Linked DNA regions of Homo sapiens: all the other regions are linked to region 7. The links are contacts of gene promoters, found by promoter capture Hi-C in blood cells and fetal thymus (Javierre and others, 2016). All regions are on one chromosome and are shown on one strand. The core of a region is centred on a gene start or on the middle of the fragment in contact, and the rest is flanking DNA. Distances in the headings are between cores, read along the strand shown. Region 1 has its middle 18 kb from the start of GALNTL5. Region 2 overlaps PRKAG2 (protein kinase AMP-activated non-catalytic subunit gamma 2). Region 3 overlaps GALNT11 (polypeptide N-acetylgalactosaminyltransferase 11). Region 4 overlaps GALNT11 (polypeptide N-acetylgalactosaminyltransferase 11). Region 5 has its middle 5.5 kb from the start of PRKAG2. Region 6 overlaps PRKAG2 (protein kinase AMP-activated non-catalytic subunit gamma 2). Region 7 holds the start of ACTR3B (actin related protein 3B).

Evidence for each region. Contacts are between HindIII fragments. The CHiCAGO score rates a contact against its expected background, and 5 or more counts as called.
Region 1: a contact is called between a fragment that was not itself captured here and the fragment with the promoter of ACTR3B in region 7, in 1 of 17 cell types (total B cells). The highest score is 6.6, in total B cells.
Region 2: a fragment that was not itself captured here is called in contact with the fragment with the promoter of ACTR3B in region 7 in 1 of 17 cell types (naive CD8 T cells); the score reaches 5.2 in naive CD8 T cells.
Region 3: a fragment that was not itself captured here is called in contact with the fragment with the promoter of ACTR3B in region 7 in 4 of 17 cell types (M2 macrophages, erythroblasts, monocytes and 1 more); the score reaches 6.4 in M2 macrophages.
Region 4: a contact is called between a fragment that was not itself captured here and the fragment with the promoter of ACTR3B in region 7, in 2 of 17 cell types (erythroblasts and megakaryocytes). The highest score is 7.1, in erythroblasts.
Region 5: a contact is called between a fragment that was not itself captured here and the fragment with the promoter of ACTR3B in region 7, in 5 of 17 cell types (total CD8 T cells, total CD4 T cells, activated CD4 T cells and 2 more). The highest score is 7.1, in total CD8 T cells.
Region 6: a contact is called between a fragment that was not itself captured here and the fragment with the promoter of ACTR3B in region 7, in 1 of 17 cell types (non-activated CD4 T cells). The highest score is 5.3, in non-activated CD4 T cells.

The regions. Positions count from the first base shown.
Region 1 is chr7:151,937,459-151,940,158 of GRCh38, reverse strand. No RefSeq gene overlaps it. Among named protein-coding and RNA genes, the nearest start is that of GALNTL5, 18 kb to the left of the region's middle. The HindIII fragment of the contact is 254 bases long and covers 1,243-1,496 here.
Region 2 is chr7:151,783,444-151,786,143 of GRCh38, reverse strand. All of the region lies in intron 2 of PRKAG2 (protein kinase AMP-activated non-catalytic subunit gamma 2), which reads left to right. Among named protein-coding and RNA genes, the nearest start is that of PRKAG2-AS2, 22 kb to the left of the region's middle. RefSeq lists enhancers at 448-1,337, 1,338-2,227. The HindIII fragment of the contact is 7,939 bases long and covers 1-2,700 here.
Region 3 is chr7:152,093,148-152,095,847 of GRCh38, reverse strand. GALNT11 (polypeptide N-acetylgalactosaminyltransferase 11) reads right to left here. Exons shown (of 12, transcript NM_022087.4): 2 at 1,326-1,658. The coding sequence starts at 1,620. Among named protein-coding and RNA genes, the nearest start is that of GALNT11, 69 kb to the right of the region's middle. The HindIII fragment of the contact is 2,482 bases long and covers 117-2,598 here.
Region 4 is chr7:152,076,314-152,079,013 of GRCh38, reverse strand. All of the region lies in intron 1 of GALNT11 (polypeptide N-acetylgalactosaminyltransferase 11), which reads right to left. Among named protein-coding and RNA genes, the nearest start is that of GALNT11, 52 kb to the right of the region's middle. The HindIII fragment of the contact is 2,385 bases long and covers 145-2,529 here.
Region 5 is chr7:151,881,294-151,883,993 of GRCh38, reverse strand. No RefSeq gene overlaps it. Among named protein-coding and RNA genes, the nearest start is that of PRKAG2, 5.5 kb to the right of the region's middle. The HindIII fragment of the contact is 629 bases long and covers 1,102-1,730 here.
Region 6 is chr7:151,764,099-151,766,798 of GRCh38, reverse strand. The region is part of intron 3 of PRKAG2 (protein kinase AMP-activated non-catalytic subunit gamma 2); the gene reads left to right. Among named protein-coding and RNA genes, the nearest start is that of PRKAG2-AS2, 41 kb to the left of the region's middle. The HindIII fragment of the contact is 5,984 bases long and covers 1-2,700 here.
Region 7 is chr7:152,758,351-152,761,050 of GRCh38, reverse strand. It overlaps ACTR3B (actin related protein 3B), which reads right to left and starts at 1,299. Exons shown (of 12, transcript NM_020445.6): 1 at 1,125-1,299. The coding sequence starts at 1,168. RefSeq lists enhancers at 448-497, 1,498-1,657 and silencers at 673-967, 728-1,247. The HindIII fragment of the contact is 7,028 bases long and covers 220-2,700 here.

The DNA.
Region 1 (2,700 bases), core at 120-2,619, 820 kb after region 7:
TACTGTAGTCCATTTAGTGTGCAATAGCATTATGTATAAAATGTACTGTATTAATTAAAAATACTTTATTGCTAAACAATGGTAACAATTATCTGAGCCTTCATGGAGTTGTAATCTTCCTTTGGTGGAGGGTTTTGCCTCGATGTTGGTGGCTGCTGACTGATCAGGGTGGTGGTTCCTGAAGGTTGGGGTGGCTGTGGAATTTCTTAAAATAAGACAGTAATGAAGTTTGCTGTATCCATCGACTCTTCTTTTTTAATTTTTTTCTACCCCTGCCCTTCCCCTGACTCTTCCTTTCACAAAAAGATTTTTCTGTAGCATGTGATGCTGTTTGATAGAATTTTACCCAGAGTAGAACTTCTTTGAAAATTGGAGTCAGTCCTTTCAGACCTTGCCACTGCTTTGTCAGCTAAGCTTATGTAATATTCTAAATGCTTTGTTGTCGTTTTAACAGTGTTCATAGCTTCTTCATCAAGAGTAGTTTCCATGTCAAGAAACCACGTTCTTTGCTCATCCAAAAGAAGCAACTCCTCATCCTTTCAAGTTTGATCATGAAATTGCAGTTCAGTCCCATCTTCTATTTCTCTTGCATTTCCACCACATCTGCAGTGACTTCCTCCACTAAAGTCTTCAACCCCTCAAGGTCATCCATGAAGACTGGAATCAACTTCTTCCAAACTCCTCTTAATGTTATTATTTTGATCTCCTCCCATGAATCACGAATGTTTCTAATGGCATTTAGAATGGTGAATCCTTTCCAGACGTTTTCAATTTTCCTTGCCCAGATCCATCAGAGGAATCACTATCTATGGCAGTTATAGCCTTATTAAATCTATTTCTTAAATAATAAGACTTGAAAGTAGAAATTAGTCCTTGATCCATGGGCAGAGAATGGTGATCGTGTTAGCAGGCAGGGACACGACATTTATCTCCTAGCACATCTCCCTCAGAGCTTATAGGTGACCAAGTGCATTGTCAATGAGCAGTAATATTTTGAAAGGAATCTTTTCTTCTGAGCAGTAGGTCTCAACGGCGGGCTTAAAATATTCAGTAAACCATGCTGTAAGCAGTTGTGTAGTCATTCAGGCTTTGTTGTTCCATTTCTAGAGCACAGGCAGAATAGATTCAGCATAATTCTTAAGGACGCTAAGATTTTCAGAATGGCAAGTGAGCACTGGCTTCAGCTTAAAGACACCAGCTGCATCAGCCCCTAGCAAGAGAGTCAGCCTATCCTTTGAAGCTTTGAAGCCAGACATTGATGTCTTCTCTCTAGCTATGAAAAGTCTTAGATGGCATCTTCTTCCAATAGAAGACTGTTTAGTCTACATTGAAAATTTGTTGTTTAGTGCTCCTGTCTTCATCAATGATCTTAATTAACTAGATCTTCTGGAAAACTTGTTGCAGCTTCTCCATCAACACTTGTTGCTTCATCTTACACTTTTTTATGGAGCTGGCTTCGCTCTTTAAATCTCATGAACCAATGAGGTTCAAAAGCTTCAAACTTCCTTCTGCAGCTTCCTCACCTCTCTCAGCCTTCAGAGTGGAAGAGAGTTAGGACCTTTCTCTGGATTCGGCTTTGGCCTAAGAGAATGCTGTGGCTGCTTTGATCTTCTATCCAGACCACTCAAACTTTCTCTGTATCAGCAATAAGGCAGTCTCACTTTCTTATCATTTGTGTGTTCCCTGGAGTAGCAGTTTTAATTTCCTTTAAGTACTTTTTTTTTGAGATGGAGTCTTGCTCTGTTACCCAGGCTGTAGTGCAGTGGCATGATCTTAGTTCACTGCGGCCTCCACCTGCCAGGTTCAAGTGATTCTTCTGCCTCAGCCTCCCAAGTAGCTGGGATTACAGGTGCACACCATGCACACCACCACGCCCGGCTAATTTTTGTATTTTTAGTAGAGATGGGGTTTCATCATGTTGGCCAGGCTGGTCTTGAACTCCTGACCTCAAGTAAGCCGCCCGCCTCAGCCTCCCAAAATGCTGGGATTACAGGCGTGAGCCACCGTGCCTGGCCAAGAACATTTTCTTTGCACTCACAATTTGGTTAACTGTTTGGCACAAGATGCCTAGCTTGGGGCCTATCTCAGCTTTCGACATGCCTTCCTCACTTAGCTTAATTACTTCTACCTTTTGATTTAAAGTCAGAGGCCTGTGACTCTCCTTTTCACTTGAACACTTAGAGGCCATTGCAGGGTTATTAATTGTCCTAATTTCAATCCCCAGGGAACAGGGATGCACAAGATGAGGGAGACAGACAGAGGAATGGCCAGCTGGTGGACCAATTAGAACACATACAACATTTATCAATTAAGTTCACTGTCTTATATGGGACCCCCAAAACAACTACAGTAGTAACATCAAAGACCACTGATCACAGATCATCACAATGATATAATAATGAAAAAGTTTTAGATACTGCAAGAATTACCAAAATATGACACAGAGACATAAACTGAGCATGTGCTGTTGGAAAAATGACACCAACAGACTTGCTCAAAGCAGGGCTGCCACAAACCTTCTATTTGTAAGAAATGCAACATCTGGGAAGTGCCATAAAGCCAAGCATGTTGAATAAAAGCCTGAATTAACTTTGTCAGTGGGCCACTAGTTGACCAGAAATTTTTCATTCTGATGTACTAAAAATCATCTTCCTTTTTTTTTTTGCTTACAGCTTGTGTTTTGAAATTTTAAGAGGTCCT
Region 2 (2,700 bases), core at 130-2,629, 970 kb after region 7:
GTATCGGTCACTGCCGACCATCTGTGGTCTTTGGGCTGAGTTCGACTGGCAGGACTTTGCCCTGCTGCCCACCAGCGCCCACCCCCAGCGCTGGGCTCTCTCCTTCCACCTCGTGTTGCACCCTCTCCACACGCCTTTTTCTCTCTTTCCACTTTTCCTTTCCTCTCTTTAGCTCCTCGCCGTCCCTCCTGCACTGGTGAATTTCCCTCCCATTAGGAAACTAGTGTCTCGAGGAGGTTGTTGACTGTGTAGGGTCAGGTGGCCAGAAAGAGTGTGGGGTGGGGTGGGGGGCTCTGGAGAGGGAGCCACAGCATCAGGTGAGGGTCGAGGTGGCCGTGGCAGGGCGCAGAGGTCCAGGCTGCTTGCAGGTTTCTCCTGCAGCCAGGAAGTAAGGGTGGGTGGAGGCCTGGTAGGGGACGTGCTTCCTGGCATTCTGCCACCCACAGACCCCTCCGGCAGGTGACAGCAGACAGAGCTAGTGATCTGGGGGCTACGTACAGGGTCTGGGATGGGTTCTGGGTGCCGGCTAGCCTGGGATGAAGGCAGGAGTTCCCATGCTGGAAAAAGCAAATCTCCTCTTTAAGCATTTGAATTACACACAACTGAATCAAATTGGTGTCGGCCTGTGGGGCTCCACTGGTGCCAGTGCCCTCCCCACCCTGCCCTGAACAAGCAACCTTATTAGCAGCTCTCGTGGCCCATCCAGCAAAGACTGCCAGGGAATGGCCTTGAGCTTCTGGGCCAGCAGAGAGTGGAGTGGCAGGAAGGGGCCACCAACCCCGTGCAAGGCTGTGGGACCAGCCCCGCGGGCACTGGGTCGTCTTCCTCCTGTTTGACTCTGCAAAACCCTTCTTTCCAGTGAAAACCTTGCACGGAAGATCTGAGAGTGTGGGAGAGACACAGGGGCCACAGCCAGGCCCTGGCCCCAGCTTCCTCTCTGGCAGCTGCATGACAAATGGCCCCATAGGCAGAGCTCTGCTCCGCAGACGGCTGAATGCCTGCTCTCCATTAGCTCTGCGGAGCCAGGCACACACTTGGGAGTCTTGTCAATACCCGGGGAATCATCCGGTTGCATTCACCAACATATCATTTGGCTATAGCTTGCCCAAGAGCAAGGCCTGAGGCCCTGTCCCTGGTGGCTTCAGCTGGCGCCTGTTATCTGCACCGCCACGCAGCCCACCCCAGCAGGCCTGTCCCTCCGCCTGGCTTTCCCACCGTCTGGGAGTGTGATCTGGCCCCCAAGGTTCCCGGTGAGAGGGGTCAGACAGGGCCCAGCATCCAGCATGCTTCGGCCATTTTCCAGAGACAGGACTGGCAGGGCTGCTTCCTAGGGCTCCCTCCTCAGGCCTGATCCCTGGATGCCCGACTCCACTGGCCTGGATTCAGAATACAGAATGGAACCCCATTCAGGATAATCCTGGGGTCCCCCTTGCTCATCAAATATGGTTAAACTGGCCTTTCATGACTGGTTCTCCAGGGGCTCATGGCTCAACTTCCCCCGTGACCCCCACCCTCATGGTGGCCCAAGTGAATGGCCGGCCCTCTGTCTCTGTGCTTCAAACCCCTTCTCCTCTGTCTCTGGGCACTGGACACCTCCCCGGCCCTGTCACTGCGTCTCTGAAGCCTAGCCAGCTGTCAGGGCCTCCTCTGGGTCAGGGCCTCTGTTAAGGGGCAGGTTTCAGCTCCGGGCCATTTATCCATCTGCATGGTGCTTATGGTGCTTCGGCCTTGTGGGCACTCTGCAAGCTCTCCTGGGGCCCCGCTCCCCTATGTGTCTCTGTTTCCCTGTAGGACTGGACATTTGCATTGGCTCGGCCCTCTCCCCCGGCTCCCCAGCAAGCTCCCTATGCTGTAAACAGAGCACGTCCATGCACCAGGTCCGGGCTCACCTTTCCAGCAGCTCCAAAATCCCACCCCTCCCTCCGGTCCTCCCATGTGGCCTCGGCTCCTCTTCCGGTTCACACCCTCGAGGCTGCTGTCGTGATTGTCTCAGCCCTGGGAACGAGGCTTGGACAACCAAGTCGTTGTCCACATTGCGGGAAACTGAGCTGTGACCAAACCCGGGCCTCCACCCAGGACCAGCTTATGTCACCTTGTGATAGGACCACCCTGGTGCCTGTGTGTGTTGTTCCTACTGGCTTCTCTCAGCCCCCATCCCACCCTAGACCTGCACACACAGCACCCACCACTTGAAGAAGAACCTCTTTTTTTTTTTTTTTTTTTTTTTTTTTGAGACAGGGTCTTGCTCTGTACCCAAGCTGGCTGGAGTACAGTAGTGTCACCTTGCTCACTGCAACCTCCACCTCCATCTCTGGGGCTCAAGTGATCCTCCCACCTCAGCTGCTTGAGTAGCTGGGACTACAGGCCACCACACCTGGCTAATTTCTGTATTTTTTGTAGAGACAGGGTTTTGCCATGTTGCCCAGGCTGGTCGAGCTCAGGTGATCCACCCACCTCGGCCTCCCAAAGTGCTGGGATTACAGGTGTGAGACACCACCCCCTGCCTGAAGACTCTCTTGTTTGTAAATTTATTCTCAGGATTTGTCCTGATTCCCATAGTTAGGTGGAATAGTGGCTAACTGGGATATTCTATAAACAGAGAATCTAAATGCTTTTCATATTAAATGGTCAAAAAAAAAAAATCAGCTGGGCATGGACAACTGTAATCCCAGCTACTCAGGAGGCTGAGGTAGGAGGATT
Region 3 (2,700 bases), core at 108-2,607, 670 kb after region 7:
AGTTAGGCAGCTGGAGTTTGTTATTCAATATCTACAATTCTCTCACTACTTCTTTCAAAAGCAAATACAGAGTCTATTCAAAATGGTAAACTCAGTATTACTTCTTGATAAAAGCTTTACCAATGTAACTATAAATAAATAAAAGAGCTAGACATTTTCCCATTAATGCTTTAAAAATGTCCACTGGCTATTTGAAAAAGATTTATGAAAATTGTACTTTATGAAAATTGAAGTTGGTGAGATCACGTCTCTATTTAAAAATATTTTTAAATGAAAACTGAAGTAGATATTAGCTTGTTTCCTCATAAAATTTTACATACTTTTGACTTCCTATATTAGAAAATCATTAAGTCCTAAGAACTGATTTTATTTCTTTGAAACTATGACCAAGTGAAAACTCTATTTTAACATTTCTTTCACATTCTAAGGCTCTCTCAATCTCTCAAAAATCTCTTGTATTTTACTCTTAAATTACCTATTATTTGATGTTTTTGTGACAAGATCCAAGTTCTTTAAGTTTTAATGATAACAAAAATTGCTCACTTATCCCTTAAAATAAAATGTCAAAATCAACACTCTAAAATTGCAGTATTCAAAGGCATAGACAATAGAGTCTTGCATCCAAGTTGAAGAGAATATAATTTTTTAGGAGGAAAAAAGGGCTATTTTATAACTAAGATTTCATAAACTATATTATATATACATATATTTTTTCTAGCACCTTAGTAATTCTTGTTAAGTGAAAATCATATTAGATATAAATAACCCCAGCTTATTTTTAAACTCAGTACTTTATGTTCTGTATTAATTAAATGTACCCTTAAAAATAAGTTAAATACAGTCAAGGAAACTTTCAACCATTTCTTTCCCTTATTAACAATTCTAGCAATTAAAACCTTCTTCCAGGGCTGGGCACAGTGGTGCATGCCTATAGTCCCAGCTACTCTCAAGGTTGAGGTGGGAGGGCAGCTTGAGCCCAAGAATTCGGGGACAGCCTGGGCAATATGGTGAGACCCCATCTCTTAAAAAAACAAACAAAAAACAAACCCCTTCTCCCATAGGTTCCATTTTCTTTCTAGCCTTTTAATTTTTCTTCCCTGGACCTTGTTTGTTTTCTCATAAGATACTGAAGTCAGAACTGGATAAATTAGAATATAACTCCCCACTGAGTCTGCAGAAACCACAGAACTTCAGGTAGTTCACAAACAAAATAAATCAGTGGGGAAAAAATGATGCAGCATTTCTGATCTCCTAATTAACTAATTAATCAAACTTCCAGTGATTAAATACATTGATATGGATGCTGGTAAACATCATATACTTACCTAATTCAGAAGAGAATTTCAAGTGGCCTTCTTCTGGATCTTCAACACGACTGTCTATCACATCGTCAATTTTGTTTGCTTTGAACTGTGGCTCGAGCACTCGACTTGGGCCTCGAGTGAAACGGGGATAGAATTTTTTTGGAGATGGTCCGTGGGGCCCAGACCCCTTGACGGGCACATTCTTAAGTGGCTGAGTCACTTCACTGAAGTTGAAATAAACAAAAAGCAAAACTGTCCAGGTCGCAGATGTAAAAAGGCACCCATAACAGAAATACCGAACTGTGACACTTCCCATTATAGACCTAGCATAGCTGAAGGGCCATTGTCAATTTCCTAAAAAAGAAGAATAAATATGTTAGACACTTCAGTATACTTTAAACCATCCACCAAATACAGAATCACTGTTTTCCAAACCACCAAGTAGGACCACTATGCGTACAGTTAACGGATATTCAAATACAAGAAGATGTATGGATAGTACTGAGTTTTTAAAAAGGGTTCAACAATGAAAACCTCAGGCCTGTGGGTTAATGCTCAGAGAACCAACGGCAGTGAAATAGCTGACTGATTCATTTGCCCATGTTAATGGATACTTCTTCACCTTTGTTCTGGACTGCTTTCAGTTGCGTAATTTTTCTCATCAGGTTATAATTTTCACAAGGAAAATAACAAGTACCACATGTATCATAACAGGACAACTAAAGTCTCTTCCAACCAAAGAACTGCAAGATTCTTTTTTTAATCCAAGGATCTTAAAAATCTATTATTAAAAATAAGCAACTCTAAGCAACTCTGGCCAGGTGTGGTGGCTCATGATTGTAATCCCAGCACTTTGGGAGGCTGAGGTGGGCGGATCATTTGAGGTCAGAAGTTCGAGACCAGCCTGGCCAACCTGGTGAAACCTTGTGTCTATCAAAAATACAAAAATTAGCTGAGGGTTGTGGTGGGCGCCTATAATAATCCCAGCTACTTGGGAGGCTGAGGCTGCAGAACCTCTTGAACCCGGGAGGCGGAGGTTGTGGTGAGCCAAGATTGCACCACTGTACTCTGGCCTGGGCAACCGAGCAAGACTCTGTCTCAAAACAATAAAAATAAATAAATATAAACAACTTAAAAAAAATTCTACTTTCCAATCAAAGGTTATGCCTGCCCTAGTGTGCACTCTAAATCTAAGTTATTTTCAAATAAAGAGTTCAAGTAATTATATTCCCTCACCTATAAAACAAGGCAAGAAGAACTAAATGTAGCACTGAACAGCAATTTTTCCTAAGCTTTTTTTTTTTTTTTCCTTTTTAAGACAGAGTCTCACTCTGTCACCCAGGCTGGAGTAAAGTGGTGGGATCTTGGCTCACTGCAACCTCTGCCTCCCGAGTTC
Region 4 (2,700 bases), core at 88-2,587, 680 kb after region 7:
CATTCTTCCCAGTCGGCAAGGGAGACAGAGTAGGAGCTACCTATAAACCATGGCTGAGTGGTGCCAGTGAGGGGCTCTGCCCCCTGACTGCCCATTATGCTGAAATTCCTGCATTATAAACTAATCCTTTGGGTCTGGAAAGCTTGCCTTTTATTTAAGATGTTCTTATCTCTCAGTCTTCAATCAAAACAGAAGTTGCATCCTTTTTGTCCAATCAAAATTTTTGGAACTCTAGCACATAAATTATTTTGTAAATGTGATTAAAAAAAACATGTAATTCATCACTTGTTAGAAAAACACTTACTCTCAGCAGAATTCTGAAAACCACTGCTAAAATTAGAAAGGAGGAGGGGAAGGAAGCTCAATCTAAGGAAAATGAATTTGCATATTACTTAGAAGTGGAAAACTTTAAGAATCACCTTATGCTATATTAAGAATCTCTTAATTCTGTGGATTGTCATCTTTCATGGGGTTTCAAAAATCTTTGCCATTATTTATTCAAATATTCCTTCCGGCCGGGCGCAGTGGCTCATGCCTATCATCCCAGCACTTTGGGAGGCCGAGGCGGGTGGATCATCTGAGGTCGGGGGTTCAAGACCAGCCTGACCAACATGGAGAAACCCTGTCTCTATTAAAAATACAAAATTTGCTGGGCATGGTGGCATACGCCTGTAATCCCAGATACTCAGGAGGCTGAGGCAGAAGAATCACTTGGATTTGGGGTAAGCCGATACTGTACCATTGCACTCCAGCCTGCGCAACAAGAGTGAAACTCTGTCTAAAAAAAACAAACACAAAAACAAATATTCCTTCTACCCCCCTCCCTCTTCTCCTTCTAGGATTCAAATCACGTATGTCAGACTTTCTCAGGATGGAGTATATTTCTTACAGCTTCTTCAGTGTTGTCCAGCCTTCCCCCCTCACGCTTCATTCAGAGAGGTTTCTTCTGATCTCTCGGGGGCTCACTTTTCTCTTCAGCAGTATCTAATCTGCTGAATCCACTGAATCCTCCATTTTGGCTACTGTATTTTTTAGATCTAGTATTTAGTTGTTTTTCAGGTCTGCTTTGCCCCCTTATATTAAGTTTCCAGTTCCTTGTTGAAATGTTTTTATTCAACTTTTATCTCCATGAACATAATAAACATATGCTTTAGCGTCTGTCTGGTAATTCCACTGTCTGCAAAGCCTGTTTCTATCCTCTGTTATCTGTGCGGGTTCTTGTTAAGGTAGTCTCCCAGTGGGCCTGGTTACACTGACTTGGTGGTATGGTGGACACTATTTGAAAAATCATTTCAGAAATAATTTGAGGCGTGAGATGTTATCTTCCTCTGGAGAGGATTTTCATCTGTCTCTGTTAGGTGACTGGGGTCACCAGCAATTTGAGATCACCCTAATCCATTTCACCATTTGAGATTTACTAAACCCCCAGGTGACCCCATGGAGCTTCAGTCCAGGCAAAGGCTGGCACACTCCCAGCCCATGAGTGTTCTGGATGGCAGCCTCTCAAGGTTTCAACATTAACCCCAGGTGGCTCACCAGGATTCTTACCCACAGCAAGTTCTAGACTCCAGTTTTTGTTTCTGTCCTCCTGTGAGTCAGTTAACTACACTGCTCAGCCTCTCACCTGCTCTTCCAGAACAGCAAATAGCCGGGCAAAAGCGGCCCTGGGTCAGAGGCTCACGTCTCTGGTTTTCTATCATCTCCCAAATCTTAACCCAGTAATTCTTTACTATGTTGTAAATTCCTTGATGCTTTTCAGAAAAGTATCAGCTGGCTTTAACTAGGTTACTCAGGCCATTATCGGAAGCACAAGGCCAGGGCTATTTTCTAAACAGTTGTTTTGGCATTTCAAAGAGTGCAGGCTAGGTACTGCCAAAAAGAACATCAGCAAATCAAACTGTGACAGAATCTTGGGCCTTTTTTTTGAGACAAGGTCTCACTGTCACCCAGGCTGGGGTGTGGTGGTTATGATCATAGATTACTGTAGCCTCCAACTCCTGGGCTCAAGCGATCCTCACCTCATCCACCCAAAGTATTGGGATTATAGGCATGAGCCACCATGCCCAGCTATGGGCCTTTTTCAGAAAACTTTTTTCCTCCATACATCGTGAACTGTATAGAAAATTAATTTCTGAGAATCTACCACCTCAACAGGTTTAGAAAGCTGACAGACTTAATCAATCTGGCAAATCACCAGATCCTAGCTCATGCTGTTAACCAAGCCCAGTAAATAAACATCGCAGTTACTGTTGTTTGCAGGTCCCCTTGAGCATTACTATCCCGCACAGTGTTCTGAATTCCAACTGCCAGTACCTGTATCTCTGGCTTCTGAAGCCCATCTGCCCACGTGCAGGGCAGGCCCAAACTACAGGGGAATGTGTACCTACCTGAGGGCAGTCCTCACAATATACTGATAAGAAGACTCCAGCTTCCTTAAATCCAGCCTCCCTCCAAACCCCCAGTGGAAAAATCACAACTCTGACATACGTATGCTACACTGGCTCTAGAATTCCTCAGCACAATCAAGCTTCATTTGTCCACAGCGGGACCTGGCTTGAAAACATGCCCTTTATTGGCTGTCTTTCCTAGACGGCGCACTTCATTCCCCTACTGGTGTGTCCTGGGATTACCTCGCAAATACACAACTTGGATTCAGATTTCTATCTCAAGATCTGCTTCCAGAAGAACCAAAACCAATCA
Region 5 (2,700 bases), core at 167-2,666, 880 kb after region 7:
TTTTTTCTGGAGTCTTGTTGAGAAGCCATGACTGGCATTCTAGAGACCAGGTCTGGGTATCAGCTGCATATCACTGGAATGGATGGTATCAGTGGTGCAGGCAAACCAGAGCTTCAGACAGACCCTCTCATGTAAGTGAACAGTCAGATTTGCATTGCAATGTACGAACTTTGAGGCCAATATCATTACCAAAATAATTTTATTTGCTTGGGAAATTATTACAATTAATTTGCATTACTTAATCATGTGCCCATAGATGGGTGAGAGGTCAGAAACCAGTCAAGAGCCATATTCAGGTAATAGTAGTATTCAGATTTCCCAAGGTTAATCAGGATGTTTATTGCATGTTGAGAGCTCATAACTAAGTCAAGAACCAACACACACAGACCTTTAGTCAAATTCTGCAGCCCAGGGAGACCAAATCTTCCACCCCAGTGGGAGGTAATGCCGGATCACTAGGATAAAAGTCACATGGGACACTCTGCAAAACAATTATAAAGGCAGCTGTTAGCAGAACCAAAGACTTTATTCCCAACTAATGCTGTTTACATGACGGCTACCCTTAGTCAGGAAGGGGGCATCATTGCTGGGGATTCCCTATTCTATTATTTAGCAAACAGACACCTCCTCACTGCACAGCGCTTGTGGATACACATGCCCTGTTTGGTGAATCTGTCATTCTGTAGAACTGCTGAGTGTGTGCTTAGGTACAGAGCTGGCCAAGACACGAAGCTATTCTCTAGAGAGAAGATATGCACAGCAAATCTGTCGTTTGGGAGAACATTGCTACAGGGTTCACCTTTACCTTAATCCAAAGTACTTCTTGGATTTCACGATGAGGACTTCCTTATGGTTGACTGGCATCATGGATGAAGAGCTACCTGGAGCACTGACCAAGGAGGTGGCTGGCACAGGTGCCCGGGAAAATAAAATGGACCCAGAAAGGGGCAGTCAGGCAGTCAGGAGATGTGTTGTCCCAAAGCAGTGTTCCTGCTGGTCCTGGGCCCCTGCCTCCACTTCTCTGCGTGGATTGATACTAATGACTCCATTTGTACCAGGGAGCAAAAGCCATCACAAGGTTACACAACCATTGCCCAAGCTTAAAGGAAATAAAAACTGGAATGTGACTATTTGCCCTGTTTTTCACAATTAGATAACACCCCCTTAGCTTGGTATTCAATAAGTTATCAAAGCATTTACAGAGTCCTGAGCCCAGAACTTGCTGTTTAGTTTTTCTAAGAGTTGTAAAATTGAGCTGTTGTTGTCTTCCTGCATATACAGACCATTGCTCTCTCCATTTGTGTCACAGGCAAATAGACCAAGGCAGCTAAGATGTTCTTAGTTGGTCTCTCTTAGACGGTCCAAGGTTATCCCAAAGGCATTTCCTAAAGAGTCTTCAGCAAAGTTCTTAAAAGCAGAGGGGCCACATATTTTATGTTTTCCTAGAGGGCACAGCCAATTAATACTCACGGGCAGAAGTGAAATGAATGCCAGCGGATTCCAGCAACTAGGTTTCTGTTCCCTTCATCTGTAAAGTGGATGTGATCGTTCTCTTCAGGGATTTTAGTGGAAATTAGGGTGAGATAGTTAATATGAAGTACCTAACATGGTGCCTGGCATGTTATTAGTGATCAAAAAGTTCCTTTCTTCTTTGCAATGTGGAATCCACTGTCACTGAGGTTGGGAACTCATCAGACACAGACATCCATCTCCTGATTACAGAGGAAGCTTCTAACTGCTACATTCTAAGCACCCAGAGTAAGCTTGGACTTCAAACCCATGAGGACACCCCCAATTCTAAGACTGTCTATACTATATAAAGATGACTCATGGTTTTCAAAGTCATTTTTATTTATATGGAATAACAGGCCAAATTAAAAAAAAAAAAAAGCATGGGTGGGCGTAAGGGAACACGTAAGTTTGGAAAACCAGATTAAGTGAAATTAAATAGCCAGTGTCCCCTTCATAAGCTCTGATCAAGGATTTCCTTTACGTTAACTCTCCTACTGTGGGTATTTCACTTCTCAGCGGGTTGTAGGCCCTGGACCTGGGTGCAGCATTTTAAATTATCACCTCTGAATGAAATGTTGCCTGGCTGGGGAAGAGGTGGCTCACCCTGGCAGGCCAGTGTGTTGACCAGGATCCCTGAGAGCTGACAGCATTCAGAAATGGGTACCCCAAGTATTTGCAGGTGATGTTGGTCTAGGATACTAATATAGTGGGACAGCAACGACACAAACACATGTGTGGTATAAAATGTGCCAATCATATCTGCTCCCCCATTCAATGTGCTAACATGTGTATGAGCCCTTGGCACTGTCACATAATAGAAGCTGCATGTTTTTAACCCTCATGCTCACCAGCCTGGGCCAATGATGCCCCCAACGGGAAGCAGCCTCAGTGATAGGGTTTGGCTGTGTCCCCACCCAAATCTCATCTTGAATTGTAGCTCCCATAATTCCCATGTGTTGTGGGAGGAATCATGGGGGTGGGTCTTTCCCATGCTGTTCTCGTGATAGTGAATAAGTCTCACGAGATCTGATGGTTTTATAAATGGGAGTTCCCCTGCACACTCTCTCTTTCCTGCTGTCATGTAAGACGTGTCTTTCCTTCTCCTTGCTTTTCACCATGATTGTGAGGCCTCCCCAGCCATGTGGAACTGTGAGTCAATTAAACCTCTTTCCTTTATAAATTACCCAG
Region 6 (2,700 bases), core at 153-2,652, 990 kb after region 7:
AGATGAGTTAGTGGTAGGCCGGACTGGCTCGGAGAGGTGTTGTGATAAATGGAGACACTTTAGCGGGCCTTGACGGATAAATGAGAGGGAGCCTCCCACACAGTAGCAGACCCCACTGTCTTCAGGTGTCTGTGAACTTGCAGTCCTCTGACACCTTTTTCTTGAAACACACTAGTGCCTGGGCATAGGTCATCCCCAGTCCCCCTTTCTAAAGTGGCCTGAGCCAGTGTTCCAAATCAGGGTGATAGCTGGTCTCAGCACTCTGCTTTTACTCTCTCCTGGGACTTATCCACGATCTGGGCGCCTCGCCTTTGGTTTTCTCCTTTTTAGTGAGATGAACATGTCTGTTGTTACTGAGTACAGGTTGTTGAGTGAACTGTGTTTGAGCTTCACTTCCCACCAACCTCCCACCTACCATTGTTGACTCCAAAATGTCTCCTTTTGACAAGACTCTTCCTGTAAGTTTCTCCCCCACCTCACTTCTTCCCCGTTCCTACCATCATTTAAAGGAAATAGATTTTGATAAATGGGCTTTACTGCTGTAAGTGAAGTTGGAAGAACAAAGGTTTCAGATCTGCAGCCCAGCCGAGTCCTCGTGCAGCGCATATGTGAGAAGTTACAGTGACACCTCTGTGTCCTTTGGGAGATTTTGGCATGGGCTGAGTGTTCTTTTGGTCCATTGTGTTCCCATTCACACAGTGTCACAGATAAAGGAGATGAATTGAGTCTGAAATTGCTGTTTATTACAGTTCCTGGAGATACTATAATACCTGAGTAGGATCTGCACACAATAGCCACTCAAAACCATTATCAGATGAATCACCTGTCAACGTTAGGAAGGTCCCCAATCCAGACACATGATGCCATCATCAGCATCAGGTTAGTGGGTCAGGAGTGCCAGGGGTCACACAGGAATGAAAATCAAGTTATCAGGCCAGGGCTAATTGGGGAATTAGACAAGATGAAGAATTTATTTCAGGTGCAATTAGATAGAGTTTTAAAATACACTGTAGGATTTCATTTAATCCTATAGTAACTGTTAAGGGTTGTATGATGTTCCCGGCAAAAATGGTTTGTGGAAGTCCTGACCCCCAGGACCTCAGAATGTGACCTGACTTGGAAATAGGGTCATGGCAGGTGTAATTATTTAAGATGAGGTCATTCATGTGGGCCCTCAGTCCAGAATGACTGGTGTCCTTAAAAGAAGGCCCAGTGATGACGGAGACCCAGGGAGCTGGTGGAGCTGAGACGGGGATGCCCTGGTGCCTGTGATCCCTGAAGCTGCAGGGCAGAAAGGGCTCCCCCAGGTTTCAGATGGTGATATGGTTTGGCTTCTTGTTACCACCCGAATCTCCTGTTGAATTGTAATCCCCACATGTTGGAGGAGGGGCCTGGTGGGAGGTGATTGAATCGTAGGGGCAGACTTCCCATTGCTATTCTGGCGATAGTGAATGAGTTCTCACGAGATCTGGTTGTTGAAAAGTGTGTAGCACTTCCCCTTCACTCTTTCCTTCCTGATGCCATGTAAGACGTGCCTGCTTCCTCTTCACCTTCTGCCATGATTGTAAGTTTCCTGAGGCCTCCCCAGCCATGCTTCCTGTAGAGCCTACAGAACTGTGAGTCAATTAAACTTTTTTTCTGCATAAGTTACCCAGTTTCAGGTAGTTCCTTCTAGCAGTGTGAGAACGGACTAATACAGATGGACTGCGGGCTCACACACACCTTGACTTAGGCTCCCAGCCTCCAGAACTGTGAAGGGATAAATCCCATTGCTTAAGCCCCCCTGGCCATAGACAGCAGCCAGAGAACAGACACAGCAAATGTCCAGGAAAGCTATGGCCACACAGCAGACAGGATGCTCGGCCTCTCAGCCATGATCTTCTGTTGTTTTCAGTGAGGCAGAGGGCAGGTGTGTTACCTTGGAGTCCCCACTGCAGCCTCCCCATGCTTCACAGATGGGGAAGGAGTCCCTGTCTCTCTACAACCTTGAGGCCTTACCCCCACCTGCTGGCCCTGCCCCCACGTCCTGGGACCAAACCCTGACCATCCTGACACTGCCCCCACCTCCTGGCTCTGCCCCTGACCCACTTGCTCCTGGGAGCATGGTTGGGTGGGAGGCAGGACAGTGTGAATAGGTCATGAGGTCTCCGGGCTTCTGGTAGGACTCATGAACTAAGGAGTTGACAGCACTCGTGGTGTAGCCATCGCAGTCCTGGGATGCCTCTAGGCACTTCCCCGCTCTCCCTGGGTCGTCTGACAGGTGGAGAGCTCTTGGCACTGGGGGTGGACAGTCAGAAAGTACTGGGCGGGGGTAGCAGGTCCCTAGGCCCTCAGCTCAGGTGTCAGCAAATCAGAGCTGGAGTTGAGTGTTTGTTAGCTTAAAGGACAAATAGCAAAATGAAAAAGCATCCAAGGAAGGGCGCCAACCTCTGGGTCTCTGGACAGCCTTTCTCCCTTCTGGAGCGCTGGTCTCTCCATCACTCTCCTGGGCTGGGCTGCGCTCTGGCTTTGGCCCAGGGCAGTGGCCTGAAGTGTCCCCTGTGGCCATTAGAGCTGTGATTGCAGATCTGTCAAAGCGGCTGCTGCACAGATGTTTCCATCACCACTTTTATTATGTCATTCCCTTGCTAGAGACTTCAGAAAACTCAAACTGCTTGCCAGATCAGGGCCAACCTCACCCCCCAATTCACACCCCGTCCA
Region 7 (2,700 bases), core at 50-2,549:
ACTGTAGCAAACTAAAGAAGGCACCCCCACAAGGTTGTCAAGGAAACCAAACCAAGTGCATTTTTCTATAGAAAAGAATCAAGGGTAAGGTGAACATGCCATGTTACATTTTGTGGCAAAAATGATTAAAATCCCTTCTTGAAAAAAATCGCTAAGAGACCAAATTTACTTCCAGGCTATTTTACTAAGCACTACACCCATAACGCAGGCAGGCAAGCTTGTATTCCCAAACTACCAGCTACATGGATTCAGCAATCACCTTACTACAACCAGCTAACTTGGGTCACCGATACTTCAGGGCATTTCCTAAGATCTCTTTTTAATAGCTTAACGGCAACGAAAGAAGTGGTCACACTCAAAAAGTTAAAAACAAAAACCTCTACCACAATTCCACAAACATGCTCTCCCAAATTTAGGGTATTTTTCAAAATGGAGTCTTTTTAAACACATCATTTTTCAGCGAAAAGGCAAATCTATGCAAACCAAAGGGACAGCTTGGCCTGAGTGTGCCATTTCATACTGGAAAAGCGCAGGGAGGGCAGTAAAAATGGTATCAAGTTGGGAGATCGATGCTATTCTCTCCACAAGTAGGTGGTAAAGAATCCTCAGCCAGGAGGAATGACACGCACACGCGGGGACAGAACGAGGGCCAGTGCTGAGAACGCTGGAAGGCAGGGACACCGTTCACTAGGAGATGAGTGACGTTAAAGGATCTGCAGTGATGATCTGTGCCTCACGCTGGCGAATATTCCTAGGAGGGGAGATCCCGCGCTCCCGGTGTCCCTCAGGGTGTCCACCCCGGCGACGGCCGGAGCCGGGCTGCGGGTCCAGGGGCCCGGCCACGTGGGCGGGGGAGGCGAGGAGCGCCGGGCTCGCTCAGAGTGGGCACCGCGTCCCTACCCTCCGTGCTTTTCCTCTTGTGGCCCTTCCCGGCAGGGAAGAGGGGGTTTTACGACGTCAAGGCAAGGCTTGGAGGGAAGCGGCGGCCGGCGCCCCACCTGCCCAGGTGATCGCGGGGCTCAAGCCCGGGGCGACGGACGCAGCTCGACCTCCAGGCGAGGTGGACGCCAGGGGCCGGGAGCGGGGCCGCGGAGGAGCGGGGGTGGGCGCCGAGCTGCTCTTACCCGGTGCCACAGTCCACCACGCAGGGAGGCAGGGAGCCTGCCATGCTCGGGACGCGCGGCGCTCGGCCCCGCCGGCAGCCCGAGAGCGCCCCGTCGCCGTCCGCTCCGCCGCCCGCTAGCCCCGCGCGCAGCGTCTCCCGCGAGCCGCCGCAGCGCCGCTGCCGGGAGCCCGGATGCTCGGCGGCCGACACGTGACGTCACTCCCCGGTCGGCCAATCAGAACGCGCGCACGCCCCGCCTCCCCCAACACCCCCACCCCCACTCCGGCGCGCCATCTTTAGTGCTGGCAGCGAGGCTTCTTGGCCCCATACGTCCAACCTTGCTGCTGGAGAGATTGGGGTTTATTTTTAACTGACTTACATGAACGTGACCCCATTTCCGAGGCCTGGCGCCTTTCTCCTCCTGTAAGTCTTCGCTCGAATGTCACCTTGCGAGGGAAGTTGTTCCTGATCACCCTGACTATGTCCCCTACCGGTACTGTATCCTCTGTCTCAACAATCTGTTGGTTTCATTCCTAACCCTTAAAGCAAAGTGTTTATATTTTTATATTTATGTATTTGTTGTCTGCCTCCCCTACTGGACTATCAAATCTTCTAGGATAGGGCTTGAGTCTGTCTTAATCACTATTGATGAGCAGCAGGTGCTTAGCACAGTATTTGGTGTACCTGTGGAAGTGCCCAAATGTTTGTTGAATGACTGAGTAACCTTCCCCATATAATAAAAAAAAAAAAAAAAATTAGTTGGAATTGGCCGGGCGCGGTGGCTCACGCCTGTAATCCCAGCACTTTGGGAGGCTGAGGGTGGATCACAAGGTCAGGAGTTCCAGACCAGCCTGGCCAACATGGTGAAACCCCTTCTCTACTGAAAATACAAAAATTAGCCGGGCGTGGTGGCGGGTGCCTGTAATCCCAGCTGCTCCGGAGGCTGAGGCAGGAGAATCGCTTGAACCTGGGAGGCGGAGGTTGCAGTGAGCCAAGATCGCGCCATTGCACTCCAGCCTGGACAACAGGGCGAGAGTCTGTCTCAAAAAAACAACAAAAAAAATTAGTTGGAATTATTATACCTAACACGGCCTAAATTTTTCTAAGAAGAAAAATCTGCAAAACAAATGCTTGGCCAGCCTTAAGGAATGAATGGCCTTAGACTGAGTAAACCACACCAAGATCACTCCTGGAAAATGTTTTCAAGTGTCGAAGATGGGATGATCGCCCAAAAGTTCTTACTGAAACCAAAGAAGGCAAACACCACCTACTATATTATAAAGGTACTGAGAGTCCCACTTGCCACTTGCTTCCTGCTTCTTGCCCGATCGTAAATTCTTGATACTAATTTTTTAGGAGCTTTCTGGAAACATGTATTTTTTTGTTTTGTTTTGTTTTTTGAGATGAGTCTCACTCTGTCGCCCAGGCTGGAGTGCAGTGGCGCAATCTCGGCTCACTGCAACTCCGCCTCCCAGGTTCAAGCAATTCTCCTGCCTCAGCCTCCCAAGTAGCTGGGATTACAGGCACCCACTACCATGCCCGGTTAATTTTTTGTATTTTTAGTAGAGACAGGGTTTCATCATGCTGGCCAGACT